Linked DNA regions of Homo sapiens: region 1 is linked to region 2. Evidence: promoter capture Hi-C in human tissues and cell types (Jung and others, 2019). All regions are on one chromosome and are shown on one strand. Each heading gives the region's core, a stretch centred on a gene start or on the middle of the fragment in contact. The rest is flanking DNA. Distances are from core to core; before and after follow the strand shown.

What was found. The method cuts DNA at HindIII sites, captures the fragments that hold promoters and counts their contacts. A contact is called where the count stands out against the background at its distance.
Region 1: a contact is called between a fragment that was not itself captured here and the fragment with the promoter of NAA16 in region 2, in 1 of the 25 tissues and cell types used here (dorsolateral prefrontal cortex).

What each region holds. Positions count from the first base shown.
Region 1 is chr13:41,915,437-41,918,136 of GRCh38, forward strand. The region is part of intron 2 of VWA8 (von Willebrand factor A domain containing 8); the gene reads right to left. Among named protein-coding and RNA genes, the nearest start is that of VWA8, 44 kb to the right of the region's middle. RefSeq lists enhancers at 1,260-1,339, 2,449-2,568. The HindIII fragment of the contact is 3,772 bases long and covers 1-2,700 here.
Region 2 is chr13:41,309,998-41,312,697 of GRCh38, forward strand. It overlaps NAA16 (N-alpha-acetyltransferase 16, NatA auxiliary subunit), which reads left to right and starts at 1,270. Exons shown (of 20, transcript NM_024561.5): 1 at 1,270-1,585. The coding sequence starts at 1,532. It also overlaps a transcript of MTRF1 not described here. The HindIII fragment of the contact is 7,787 bases long and covers 1-2,700 here.

The sequences.
Region 1 (2,700 bases), core at 146-2,645, 610 kb after region 2:
GAAATGAGAAATAATTTGGTACACCACTGATATTTTGTGATGGTAAATGCAATGACCAAGATGGTCTCATCCTGCCCAGTATGTCAATGGCACCATAGTTGAGAAATATTGTGTAGTCATTATTTTTTCTCAAGGCCTCTGTTGCCTGCACACCACTAATGAGTTTGTCACAATTAAGCCCAGAGAAAGAGTTTCTCTCTATTTCCTTTACCTTCTGAAAGATAAAACTTTTAGCGAGGAAATCAGTAGAGAATAAGTTCTACCTTTAGAGTAAGTCTGTAGGAGTTGTCAGGATATCTAAGGCTCTCATCATCACATTCCAATTTTACATAAGTTTCTTAATACATATAAGCTACTTCTGAATCCCATGGCTGGCCTTGTAGTCTATGGCATACCTTCACAAAGAAAATACATTTTCCCTGCTTTTATTCTCCCTCAATAACAATACTAATAATGGCTATAATTTATTGCATTCCTATCAGGTACCAGGTAAACATACAAACGATTTTTCACATAGGATCTCATAACAATTCTAGAAAGCAGCAGACCTATTGTATAAAGACACAGATTCAAGACAGATTGGCTGGGTTCAAATTCCAACTCTACTATTTACTAGCTATGTAACCTTAATCAAGTTATTTAACCTCTCTGCTCAGTTTCCTCATCTGTATAATAGATACAATTGTACTTACTTATAAAGTTGTTATGAGGATTATATTAAGCACTTAGAACAGTGTCTAATAACAGTAAATGCTGTGTTTGTTAAATACTCATTACTCCCATTTTACAATAAGAAAATCAAAATTGGAAATGTAGTATCATTTGTCTATAGCTGCTAAGTCCATAAACCAAGATTTATACCTAAGTTGTTTAAGTCCAAAACTTGTATTTCAGTCATTATGTTCTACAGTCCCTCCAAAAGCTTTTCAACAGGTGTCCAGCTTCAGGTGCAAGACTTTCCCTACAAGTGTGGACCTCTCAGGGCTACATCAAATTTAGCAGACTTGCTGTTCCAGCCATTAGTTCTACTTCTTTTTGGTGGTATCAATGGTATGTTTTATTCCTTTTATTAAAATTTCAAAGTTATTTTGTAATGAATATTATGTTATCAGAGGATCTACTTCTCAAAGAAAATCCAACTTTCACTTATTCATGTTTTAGTATAGCGTATTTTACCAAAAAGCATGTCTATATTTAATTTGTCAGGAAATTGCACTAAACTACTGAAAGAAAGCATCATGCAGTGCTATGTGGTATCTGTGGTATATTTTACATTAATGCTTGAAACTAGCTGTATTTTTAGAATGGCCTCAAGAAAACATGAGTCATACTTAAAAGCACGCCAGAAATAGAAACAAGATTCAAGACTGTACATTACGAACATCTGCAAAACAAAGTGCCAAACTGCCATGCATAACCTAATATAAACATAGCACAGTACACGAGAGAAATCCCCAACTTCAATGTTTTCAGGCACAAAATGCTACCTTCCAGGAGTCCACATAATAATAAACCGATGTCAAAATAATCCCAAAGAGCTTGATCCTATATTCTAAGATTCCTTTTCTATGTAAAGATAAAAACATGTAGTTCATACTGGCCTAAATCCCTGATTCAATTCCTAACCAATATTTGTTTTCAAAAAATATGTACTATTTTTTGCCCAGCCATATTCAAAGGCTTTAAAGTAATTTTATCATAGTTATCTAAATTATAATTTTCTCCCTTCATGAACTCAAATTTTCATACATATAAAAGTTAAAATTAAAATTCTAGAAAATTAAGCATAGGTCAGATTCTATTATAATAAATCCTTCAAAACTGTTGATGTTTTCTTAGTATCCCAAAAAGCAGCATAATATAATGGAGGAAAAAAAAAAGTCTTTGAAGCCAGACAGACCTACTGTGATTTTTCATCCTGTCTTTTATCCATGTCCTTAGACAAGCATTTTGACTCTTTCAGGTCTGTTTCCTTATTTTCTTTTTTAAATTTTTTAAATTATACTTTAAGTTCTGAGATACATGTGCAGAACACGCAGATTTGTAGTTTCCTTATTTTCAAAATAAAGATAATAATACTTATTGAGTATGGTTTGTGAGGATTATAGGTAAAGCACCATGCCCAGTCCCTCAGCCAATGAGAACCAGGTACGGGAGAATTATTCAAGTCTCATCCTCACCTGCAAACTCCTATCTCTGCTGTGTACCCTGGACACCAGGCTGTATAGTGTGGATTTGGTGGATATGAATAGGCTCCTGAGTTTACACTCAAATTACCTGCTGGGCCTAGAGGCAAATCTGAAGAATAAGGGAGAAAGGAACCCAGTACTTACTACATCCTCACTGGTAAAGCCTATGTTAGAGTACTTTCACTTGACATTTCATTACCATTTCATCACCCCACAAAATAGCTCAGAAAGAATCTACATCTAGGCCCATAACATGCCCCTGAATTTGATTTTTCTACCACATCACAACACAAGATTTCAAAGGAAGCATGACTAACCTCCTCACTGCAACTACGTGCTCATCTGCTAAACTTTCCCCTATTTACCATGTAACATTCTGTAGTTAGATATAATGGACATGAAGGGTGAAAATATTTAGCACCAAAGTCCTCATTATTTACAACACGAACTAACTGAACTAAAAAATTAATTTATTCACACAGCTATATTTATTAAGGACCTACTATATGCT
Region 2 (2,700 bases), core at 20-2,519:
AAAAAAGGAAAATAAAAAAGGGCAGCCCAGTTCTGATTACAGCCGACTAAATGCAGTTACTCATCAATTACTTTATAGTCTCAGAAATATGCACCCATTAAGATTCAGCACATGTATAAATAAACTTATGTACCTAATGTTTACACACACCTTACTACTAACCCTACACTGAATGTATGGTTTATTCTTGCCACTGTTGTATCTTTCTAGACTCACACATTACCATCAATATGCTGCCTTTTATTTGTTGTAGAGAGTATCCCAGAGTTGGAAGATCCTGAATTTGAAGCCTGTTTCTCCCATTATTATATGGCTTTCAGGAAGGGGAACCATCTGAAGAGAAAGGGTAGGTAGACTCAGAAGACCAGTGGCCTTATAAAACCGTAATTCCGGCCAGGTGTGGTGGCTCACGCCTGTAATCCCAGCACTTTCGGAGGTTGACGCGGGGGCGGATCACGAGGTCAAGAGATCAAGACCATCCTGGCCAACATGGTGAAAGCCTGTCTCTACTAAAAATACAAAATTAGCCGGGTGTGGTGGCGCATGCCTGTAATCCCAGCCACTCGGGAGGCTGAGGCAGGAGAATCCTTTGAACTCAGGAGGCGGAGGTTGCAGTGAGCCCAGATAGCGCCACTGCACTGCAGCCTGGGCGACAAGAGCGATACTCCATCTCAAAACCAACCAACCAAACAAAAACAAAGATTGTAAATGTTTGTTTGGTTTGCCCTGGAAAGAGAAGGCTTCTACTTAGAGTCTGAATCAAGGAGGAAAAGGAAAGAAAACAAGTTCATCTTTCATCAAAAGTCTACTTTGCATCGGACACTTAAATTCCTAAATGGGGAGAAATGCAAAAAACTCTGACTCTTCAGAGTCATAACTAACATTATCTTGCGCCACAAGCTTATCAAGAGTGCAATACAAGTCAGTGTCTTCTCTTTTCTACTTAAAAGAAAATTCTCGTTTTTATTTATTACTTTATTGCAAGGAGAAGCAGACAATAAGTAGGAGTCTTATGAGGCGTTCTGATGCATAGGAGCAATGGTGAATGAGGGTGGTGACTCACCACCCCATGGGACTCCAAGGTTTTGGTGACAGCTCGCCTGAGCCCCAGGGGGTGCCGAGATTGCGGCGAGGAGAGCCGCAGCACAAGGCAAATCCACGCGGTTGGTCCCCGCTACGCCCCCGTAGTCACCCGCAGCCCCTCGCCAAAGGGCGCTCCGCGCATGCGCACAGGATCCGGCTCGGGAGGCGGACCCTGGCTGCCATCTTGCAGTGCGCGGGAACCGCCGCCGCCGCCGCTGGCCAAAAAGCGGAGCCCAGGGGAAGCGTGTCCTGCTCAGACCGCCTTCCTTCTCCATTGCCACCCGTGCCGAACAGCCAGGCTGCCCAATTGCAACTGTAGACCAATGAACTAATCCATCGCCCGCAGCCCGACTCTCAGCAGCGGTTCGTCCCGGTGCCCACCCCCGCGAAGCGGAGCGCCCGGGCACCTAGCCTCCCTGCCGGCCACCTAGCCTCCCTGCCGGCCACGATGCCGAACGTGCTGCTGCCGCCCAAGGAGAGCAACCTCTTCAAACGCATCTTGGTGAGTGGCCGTAGGCCGCGCTGCCGCCCCCCGGTCCCCGGGTCCTCGGGCCTTAAGGGCAAGCGGTCTGGCGGCGGCCGGCGCGGGCCAGGCTTGGCCTCCGCTGCCCACCGCTCTTTGTTTACCTCGGAGGTCGCGGGACCCCACTTTCCCGCTCCGGCCGGCCCACGGGGGCTGCCGAGCCGCTCCTCCGTGCGCTTCCTTTCCGCGGTCTTCTGCGGCTCGCCTCACCCCCGCCGCGCTCTTTCCAGAAACTTCACGCCGCTCTCCGCAGTGCCCGGGCACAGCCGCCTCGGCCGGTAGTGGCTGCCGTGCTCTCTGCCGCGCCGGGCTCGCAGCAGCCCCTCAGGGATCCTCCCCCGGTGGTTTATTTTGCCAGTCTCTCCTCGGCTAGGTGTTTTGCGTTCTGCATTCTCTGCTTTGCGTTTAGTTAGATTGCACAGCACACCCGCATACCTATTAAAGCGGGATCGATGCGATGGTGGAATTTTTCCTGGTTACGAGGAAATAAAACCGGCAACTTTAGGAAGCCAGGCCTGGCACCACCTCCCTTTGGGAAAAAGTTTGCCTGTTTGTAATGTACCTTATTTACCTCTTTGGAAGTGAATATTTGACTTGAAGTGCGTTTCTGAGTTGTCACCAACTTCAAAACAGCTGTTTGCTTTTTAGTCGCACAGGCCTTGCTTGAGTAATTAAAGCCGCGTGGACTGGCTGGTTTTGCATTTGAGGGGAGCATTTTTACTTTATCGCGGAGCAGAAGCCTGAATAATGGCCCCGTAGTGATGACCGCTGCGGAGCCGGGTGGGCAGTTTTCTGTGGGCTGTGTGCCAGCGTCCCTGGTAGCTTTCCAGGTTCTGTTCTTCCAAGGAGAAGAGGCAGCATTCCTTTGCTTTCCTCAGTATCCTCTGGCTACCCTAGGTTTTAAACTAATATTGTTAGTAGGTAACTGTCTTTTCTAGTTTATCTTTTCACCTGAAAAAAAGCTTTTATTTGCTAAACATGCATTTAGGTTTAAAGGTGAATTTATTGAAAGCTGGGTTGGCTATATGGCTGTTAGTTGTTGCTTAACTTTACTATAAATAAAATACTAATTTTAGAGTAATTTTAAGTATGAA